Linked DNA regions of Homo sapiens: all the other regions are linked to region 1. The links are contacts of gene promoters, found by promoter capture Hi-C in blood cells and fetal thymus (Javierre and others, 2016). All regions are on one chromosome and are shown on one strand. The core of a region is centred on a gene start or on the middle of the fragment in contact, and the rest is flanking DNA. Distances in the headings are between cores, read along the strand shown.

Evidence for each region. Contacts are between HindIII fragments. The CHiCAGO score rates a contact against its expected background, and 5 or more counts as called.
Region 2: a fragment that was not itself captured here is called in contact with the fragment with the promoter of ARF6 in region 1 in 3 of 17 cell types (total CD4 T cells, non-activated CD4 T cells and total B cells); the score reaches 7.3 in total CD4 T cells.
Region 3: a fragment that was not itself captured here is called in contact with the fragment with the promoter of ARF6 in region 1 in 8 of 17 cell types (naive CD8 T cells, non-activated CD4 T cells, monocytes and 5 more); the score reaches 8.6 in naive CD8 T cells.

Annotation. Positions count from the first base shown.
Region 1 is chr14:49,891,569-49,894,560 of GRCh38, reverse strand. It overlaps ARF6 (ARF GTPase 6), which reads right to left and starts at 1,479. Exons shown (of 2, transcript NM_001663.4): 1 at 1,404-1,479; 2 at 1-1,305. The coding sequence starts at 824. The coding sequence ends at 297. RefSeq lists enhancers at 550-599, 630-949, 1,820-1,919 and silencers at 1,110-1,299, 1,340-1,729. The HindIII fragment of the contact is 6,329 bases long and covers 1-2,992 here.
Region 2 is chr14:50,141,330-50,144,321 of GRCh38, reverse strand. The region is part of intron 16 of SOS2 (SOS Ras/Rho guanine nucleotide exchange factor 2); the gene reads left to right. Among named protein-coding and RNA genes, the nearest start is that of VCPKMT, 26 kb to the right of the region's middle. The HindIII fragment of the contact is 729 bases long and covers 1,009-1,737 here.
Region 3 is chr14:50,121,633-50,124,624 of GRCh38, reverse strand. All of the region lies in intron 21 of SOS2 (SOS Ras/Rho guanine nucleotide exchange factor 2), which reads left to right. Among named protein-coding and RNA genes, the nearest start is that of VCPKMT, 6.6 kb to the right of the region's middle. The HindIII fragment of the contact is 5,022 bases long and covers 1-2,992 here.

The DNA.
Region 1 (2,992 bases), core at 230-2,729:
CCATCTGCTGGAAGTCAACAAGAGCATCTAGCAACTTTGTGTTCATGTCAAATGTCAGATCAGAGCATCCTAACGCAAAGCCAACAAAAAAAAAAAAAAAAAAAAAAGGAAAAAGAAAGGGAAACAAACAAAAGAGAAAACCCCCAAGCCCCGTCCCCGCCAAACTGTAGAACAGTAACTCCAGAGTTCAAATTCAAAAGAAGAGAAAGTGGCAATTGAAAGAGGTGATGGTGGCGATAATCCTATGAATGGGTTTTTGATTTCTCTCCTTCCAGGGGATGGGTGGAGAATGCTCATTAAGATTTGTAGTTAGAGGTTAACCATGTGAGCCCCTCATAGAGTCCGTCCCCTGAGGTGGCACAGGAGGGCTGCACATACCAGTTCCTGTCCCGAATCCGGGTCAGGCCCAGTTTCTCCTGGATCTCGTGGGGTTTCATGGCATCGGGCAGGTCCTGCTTGTTGGCGAAGATGAGGATTATGGCGTCCCTCATCTCCCGGTCATTGATAATGCGGTGCAGCTCCTGGCGAGCCTCATCGATGCGGTCGCGGTCGGCGCAGTCCACTACGAAGATGAGACCTTGGGTCCCAGTGTAGTAATGCCGCCAGAGCGGCCGGATCTTGTCCTGGCCGCCCACATCCCATACGTTGAACTTGACATTTTTGTAAGTCACCGTCTCCACGTTGAAACCCACAGTGGGAATGGTGGTCACCGACTGGCCCAGCTTCAACTTGTACAGGATTGTTGTCTTGCCGGCCGCGTCCAGGCCCAACATGAGGATCCGCATTTCCTTGTTCCCGAAGATTTTGGATAGCACCTTCCCCATCGCGTCGGAGGAGCCGGGGCCGGGGGCATTCAGGTGTCCCGGGTCCCCTCAGCCAACAACGCCGCCGCCGCCGCGAAACCGAAACGAAGCCTCTCGGCCGCGAGAGCGCCTTTGCGGCCTGCGTGGGAGTTGCCTCCTAAGGGCAGAGGCCCAGGCCCCCCGCTCACTCGGGCATCACCGACCGCACAACTTGATTTCTCCAGTCGCCGCCGCCACCCGGGCCCTGAGACTGCGCTGGGAGCCGCCGCCCTGCTGAGGCGCGGCCCGGCCCGGAACTGCCCTTCCCCCCGCAGGCGCCGCGCGAGCGCCGCCGCGGTTCCCGCTCCTCCGCCTTCCTCTCACCGCGAGGGAGACTGCAGCCCTCCGGCCCGCCCGCCGGCCTGCGAGCACTGGGCTCCCCACCGACCCAGGACACCCGAGAGGCAGCGCGGCTCCGGGGCCCCGTCAGGTCATGGATCCTCGCGGGAACTCGGTGCGCTGCCTGCAGAGAAACAGAGAGGGAGGGGAGTTACTGCCAGAGCTCCACAAAGGAGCGAAGACCGAGGTGGCCCGCCTTTCCAGCTCGGCCCAAGGGGTTACCTCCAGCCGCCGCCCCGAGCGCGGGCTCCCTCCGGCCTCCAACTCCTCCTCCCAGTTCTGCCGCCGCCGCTGCCGGAAAAGGCGCCGAGGAAACCGCCTCACTTCCCCTCCCGACCACGCAGGCGCAGCAGAGGCCGACCGTTCGGACAAGAGCGACCTCTGTAAGGAGAGCGGCCCGCGCGCCTAGCGTCATGGGCGCCACGCGCCGGAGGGGCGGGGCTACGGCGCCTCGGAGGGCTCGCAGATGCGGCCGGCCCAGAGCCCTCGAACCTCGGACTCTGACTCGCGCCTACCCGTGGCTCTTCTAGCGTCTCCTTCCCTGCTTTTCTCTTTTGCGCTCTGCCCTCCCCTGCCCACCCGAACCAAGGGAGCAGATCTACTGGGGGGCCCTACAGGGTGGGGCCCACGGGCAGCCCGCTCTCTCCACGAACCGAGCTGCCTCCAGGCCTGTTCCCAGACCTCGGTGCCCGCCAGATGCTCTGCGAATTCCCTCCGCCCGCCCCAGCCTTCCCGCACCCTCCGCGCTCCCTGAACGTCCCAGGGAAGCTCTGTTCGCTTTTGTTTTTTTTTTTTTTCCCTTTTTCGCAACCCCTTCTTGGCTTCCTTTATCCCTTGAATTTTGTATGTTTCCTGAAAGACACGTGGGAGGCCAGTGTCTCGTGTGGAATCTGCCAGTCAGTGCAGCGCTTTCCCGGAGTTGAGTTTACTCTGCAGCTCTTTTGAATGTTTGAGCCCTGTCTGCCTATAGGTCTCGTCAAGACCAGCCCATGTTTCTTAAAAACTGCAGTATTATGAAGAGTTCCTGTGCCTTGCCGCGTTTTCACCTTTTTAGAATGCGACATCTGTTCATCTTTAAAATATCATTTTATCTCATACTGTTAGTAGTAGCTTCTTAACTACTACCCATTCTTAACTTTAAGAAGCATAGAATTTAGAATATAGAACGACCGCTTGTATGGCCTGGATCTGGGCACTTAACCTTACTAAGTTTATCTCGTGTAAACTGACCTTGCTAACTCACGTGAGGCTTAAATAATACAATGTGGAAGACTTCAGGGCACATTTTTGGTTTTTTGGTTTTTGTTTGTTTCTTGAGACGGGGTCTCACTCTGTCGCCCAGGCTGGAGTCCAGTTGCACAATCTCGGCTCACTGCAGCCTCCTCATCCTGGGTTCAAGCAGTTCTGCCTTAGCCTCCGGAGCAGCTGGAATTAGGTCGCCCACCACCACGCCCGGCTAATTTTTGTATTTTTAGTAGAGACGGGGTTTCACCATGTTGGCCAGGCTGGTCTCGAAGTCCTGACCTCAGGTGATCCACCCGCCTCGGCCCCCCAAAATGCTGGGATTACAGGCGTGAGCCACTGCGCCCTGCCAAGGACACATTTTTGTATCAAATGGTTAATGATAAAATTAGACTTAAAATAACGTGAAACCTTCAAATATCAAGGGGAGAAAAACAGGAAATGGGTATCTTTGTTTAAAAAGCAAGATGCTATAAACAGCATATGGTAACATACTGTTTTTATTAAACAAATTTAAAATATTAGATAATGGTAGATAGGTTATATGATAACCTTATAAACGTCATTTC
Region 2 (2,992 bases), core at 124-2,623, 250 kb before region 1:
GTGCATAGATTTTTATGGCCCTTTTCTCATAAACAGTTTTCTATTTTTTTATTAGCTTATCTTCAAAAACAAGATTTTAATGGCATCAAGGTTTTCTATCATGGATAAATCATAATTTATTCCAACAGTAGATTGTGGGACAATTAAGTTATTTCTGATTTTTTTCTGTGATAATTTATCATGGAATATTCATATGTAGAAGTCTTTTTAAGAGCTTGATTATTTCCCTAGAAATAATCTAGGGGTGGAAATCCTGGGTCTGAGTATTTATATACTTTAAGACTTTAAATACTTTTGCCAAGGTGTTTCGTAGCAGGATACGATAAATGCCCCTTGGTATTATGTATTATATTAAAAGCTTTTGGCCAGGTGTGGGGGCTCTCACCTGTAATCCCAACACTTTGGGAGGCAGAGACAGGAGGATCACTTGAGCCCAGGAGTTTGAGACCAGCCTGGGCAACATAGGGAGACCACATCTCTACAAAAAAAAAAAAAAAATAGCCAGGCATGGTGTTGCATGCCTCTGGCGGGGGCAGAAATCGCACTGCATTTTTAAATTGTATGTTAAAAAATAACTAGTGAGGCTGGGCTCAGTGGCTCACCTGTAATCCTAGCACTTTGGGAGGCCGAGGCGGGTGGATCACCTGAGGTCAGGAGTTCGATACCAGCCTGGCTAACATGATGAAACCCCATCTCTACTAAAAGTACAAAAATTAGTCAGGCATGGTGGTATGTGCTGGTTTGCAATCCCAGCTACTCAGGAGGCTGAGGCAGGGGTATCGCTTGAACCTGCCTGGTGGAGGTTGCAGTGAGCCAAGATTGCCCCACTGCACTCTAGCCTGGGCAACAGAGTGAAACTTGTTCTCAAAATAAATAATAACTAGTGAGGTTGAATATGTATTTATTGGGTACTTTATGATTTATGTATTCATTGCCTCTCTCATTTTTGGGGGAGGGTGTTTTCATTTTGTTGATTTTTTTTTTTTTTTTTTCCTAAAGAGTCAAGCTTGCTCTGTCACCCAGGCTGGAGTGCCAGTGGCATGATCATAGCCCACTGCAGTCTCGAACTCCTGGGCTCAAGGGATCGTCCTGTCCCAGCCTCTTGAGTAGCTGCGATTACAGGCATTAGTCAGCATGTCCAGCTGCATTTTATTCATTTATATGGATTTTTCATATATTAAAGATATTAAAACTTAGACTGTACATATATTCTCATTTCTGTTTGTCTTTTATCTGCTTTTTAATTTAAAAAATGTATAATGCTTTGACATAAGGACGTTTTATCATTTTTATTTAGTTGCACATATCAGTCTCTTCACTTATGGTTTCTTCCTTTGCTTTTGTACCTGGAAAGACTTTTTTTAAGTAAAGGATAACAAGTTAGAAACTCAGCCATATAAATACTGCTTTTGGGAATGTGCGTTTTTACAATCTTTCTGGAAAGCAGTCTAACAATATATGTTAAAATTAAAAATGTGCATACTCTTAGGACCCAGAATTGCAAAGAAATAAACACACCAGAGTATAAAGTTATATGTACAAAGATATAGTTACTGCAGCATTAGTTGTAGTAGCAGAAAACAGGAAACAACCTGAATGTCTATCAGTAAGAGAATGATTAAATACATCCTCTTATACCTCTATTGTAGAATATTGTTCAGCTATACAACAAAGTGAATGGGATCTATGTGTATTGTTGTGGAAGAACATTTGTGATATTTCAGCAGGGGAAAAGCTTCAGAATGACTATAATATTATTCCATTTTAGTATCACAAAGCAGAGCAAACCCCAAACCTCTAAGTGGAACTGGATAAGTATTGAGAATAATGTGGGAGGTTACATACTCCTCTTTTAACATTATTTATTTATTTTTTTTAGTGGGTTGTTATTAGAGGGGAATAGAGGAAAAACTGCTTTATACATATATTTTTCTGTTTGGGTGTTTGCATTTTATTGATTTGTATGAACTTTATATGTTAAAGATATTAATACTTAGTCAAATATTATGAAATAGGCCGGGGGCAGTGGCTCATGCCTGTAATCCCAACACTTTGGGAGGCTGAGGTGGGTGGATCACATGAGGCCAGGAGTTTGAGACCAGCCTGGCCAACATGATGAAACCCCGTCTTTACTAAAAATATAAAAATTACCCAGGCATGCTGGCGGGCGCCTGTAATCCCAGCTACTTGGGAGGCTGAGGCAGGAGAATCACTTGAACCCGGGAGGCAGAGGTTCCAGTGAGCCGAGATCGCACCACTGCACTCCAGCCTGTGCGACAGAGCAAGATTCCATCTCAAAAAAAAAAAAAAAGAAATATTAATGTATTTAATAAATGTGTCATAAATTGAATGCCTATATCTGTAGGCCTTTTGTTGGTCTCTCTGTTCTGTTCCTTTGATCTATTTGATCACTCTTGTGCCAGTGCCACTAGTCTAAACTATCATAACTTTATAGTAGTCCTTGATAGAGAAGAGTAGGGCAAATCCTCGCCAATCTTACTCTTTTTCAGGAGGAACGTATTCTTGGTTCTTTGTTCTCCTATATACATTTTAGAATCAATTTAAGCTCCATTTTTTTAAATTGGCATTTTGATAGGAGTTGCATTGGCTCTCTAAATCCAATTACAGATTAGTGAAGAACTGACATTTTTATAGTAACAAGTCTTTTCAACTGTGAACATCGTTTATCTCTTTATTTACTCAGTTAATAAAGTTTTGTGGGGTTTTTTTTGTTTTGACAGAGATCGCATACCTCTTTTGCTAGATGTATATTAGAATTATTTTGTTTTCAGTGACCCTTAGAGACAGGGTCATGCTCTGTCACCCAGGCTGGAGTACAGTGGCATGATCATAGCTTACTGCAGCCTCCTATTCCCAGGCTCAAACAGTCTTCCTACCTTAGTCTCCTGAGTAGTGGGGACTATAGGCACGTGCCACCCTGCTCAGCTAATTTTTTAAATTTTATGTGGAGATTGGGCGTTGCTATGTTGCG
Region 3 (2,992 bases), core at 339-2,838, 230 kb before region 1:
GAGCAAGCCTATGGTAAAAGGCACATTACTTATCCCCATGTAAATTGGTATATTAGTATAACCCTTTTGGAATCTGAATACAACATATCAAACCATAAAAATGTTCACACCCTTTGATGTTACTGATTCAGTAGATAATTGAATACTTAGTTTGTACCAGTTACCCTGCTAAGCACAAGAGATTCAGTGGCAAACAAGAAAGACAACGCCTCTGCCTTTTATTTATACAAAATACCCAATAAATGTTTGGAAAAAGTTACATGCATGAAGATTCATCCTACTGTCTCGTCTTTTCTTCCACTTCACTTGTCACTGCTTGGTCTCTCTTGCTGGTTCCTCCTCACCTTCCCAAACTATTGACATTGGAAGGCCTTAGGACTCAGTTTCTGGACCTCTTCTCACTCACTTGGTTGTTCAGTCTTGTATCGTTTACATGATGATAATTCCCAAGTTTATATCTAGCCAGAACCTCTCTTCTGACTTCTAGACTCATATATTTAATTACCCATTTAACATCTCCAGTTGGATATCTAATAGGAATCTCAAACCTTACCTGTCTGAAACTGAGCTTCTTATTATCCCCTCCAAAGTTGTTCCTCTCACTGCCTCCTCATCTCCATTCTAATTACAAGCATCCAGTTACTTAGGCTAAAAATAGTGTAATAGAAGTATCTTTTACTTCTCTCCCTTTCTCACACGCCAAATGTGACCTATCAACAAATCTTGACTACTCTCAAAATATATCCAGAATCTAACAATTTTTTGCCATCTCCACTGCTGCCACCCTGGTCCAAGCCACCATAACTTTTACCTTGTTTATTACAGTAAGCATCCTGACTTATTATCTTCTCCACTTCAGTATGTTTTTAGTAGAGCAGCCAGAATGATCCTTTTAGAATCTGAGTTAGACCTTGTTTTACTTGTGCTTAAAGCCCTCTGGTGGGCCGGGTACGGTGGCTCACCCCTGTAATCCCAGCACTTTGGGAGGCCAAGGCAGGCGGATCACCTGAGGTCAGGAGTTGGAGACCAGCCTGGCCAACATGGTGAAACCCCGTCTCTACTAAAAATACAAAAATTAGCTGGGCCTGGTTGCAGGCACCTGTAATCCCAGCATACTCAGGAGGCTGAAGCAGGAGAATTGCTTGAATCCGGGAGGCGGAGGTTGCAGTGAGCTGAGATCACACCACTGCTCTCCAGCCTGGGCGACAAGAGTGAAACTCCATCTCAAAAAAAAAAAAAAAAAAGCCCTCTGGTGGCTTTCCATCTCACTCACAGTGAAAGCCGGTTCCTTTAAAGAACGCACAGGCCCTACACAGTTTGGGCTTGTTTGATCTGTCAGACCTCATCACTTATTCTCCCCCTTCACTCAGTCTGCCTCAACATAATAGACACATTATTGCATCAGTGCTTTGCTCTTGCCATTCCTGCTGTTTATAATACTTTTCAGCCATTTAGCCTCACAGCCTGCTCCCTTACCTCCTTCAGGCTGTTACCTTAGTGAAGCCTTCCCTAATCACCCTATTTATGTTGCTCCCCTCCCACCTCTTTCTATACCCCTTTCCAACCAAATATTTCTTGTCATAATTTATAGGCATCATACTTTTACTTATCTTTCCCTAACCTAGATTATAAGTTCCATAAGGACGTGAATTTTTGAGTTTTGTTCACGGTTATATTGCTAGTGCTTCAGACAGTGCCTGACAGTATTAGCAGGTGCCCAATAACTGTTGAATGAATGAATGAATGGCAGAAAATTAGAAGTAACTTAGATAGCTAACTAACATTACAGAAATTGTTTAGTAAATTCTGCTATATTCACCAGTTTGGAATAAATGCAGGCACTAAAAAAGTTCATAAAGACTGTAGTCTTGTAGGGAAATGCTCTTGATAGACAATTAAATTGCATTCAGACTTCAGCAAGGGTTATTGATTGCCTACCGTGGAGAAATATACTGGTTAAGTGGTGACTGTAGAGTCAGACCCAGATTCAGAGCTCTCATAGCTTTCCCATCATTCACATATCATCTGCTTCCATGAGTGTGCGTGTCTGTTACCACCTAAGACTGGCTTAATCAATAAGAAAACACTCAGACATACTTGGAAGCCTAGAGGAAGGCTGCTTTAAGACTGGTTGATTCAGTGACTCGATGATGTAATTAAAGACCAGGGTTCCTGGACTCCAGCCTGGGCGACAGAGCGAGACACCGTCTCAAAAAAAAAAAAAAAAAAAAAAGCCCAGGGTTCTTTTTCACTCTTCATTGTTTTGTCCAGATTATCAGCTTGATTTAAAGCTGTTTTCCCTCAAAATCATAACTGGCAAGAGCAGTAAAGGTTGTGTGCTTCTTTGTTCAGTCAAATTATATATAGAGAGAAGTACAGACAAGACAGTATGACAGAATGCGTTTCCAAAAAAGAGCAAGGAACTTCCTTTCCATTAGCCCCCAGAATATCTCCTTTTAAATTTCACTGGTCTGAATTAGGTTACATGCCTACAGTTAAACTCATCACTCTGGCTAAAGGAATGGGATTACTCTGATTGATTTATACCAATTAGGCCCCATCCCTGGAGCTAAGGGGTCAGGTTCACTTTCCCTAAAAAAATGGCTACTTGCATGAAAGAGAGGTAGATAAAAATCTGATCATGTTAAGAAAGTGAGTCCCATGCCTATTCCTTGCCTTGAATTGGGGTGTCCTGGGCAGGATTGGCCAACTAAACCAAATGGGACAGATTTACCACCACCGAAAGGAGTTCTCCCAAAGACGGGACAAACAATGCTGGCAGGTCTGAGGAACATCCTCTGCCTAACCTCCCCACACCATCTGCCAACCTCATAGGCATACCTTTTGTATCAGCTATTTCCCCCTGAGCCAACAGGACACCCCCGCAGAAGTAACTGCAGAGCCACATGACTGAGATAGCAATTTTTGACATAGAATAATTAGTTTGACATATCTACTTGGATGTCTCATAAGCAGTTCAGTTCAGAGTGTT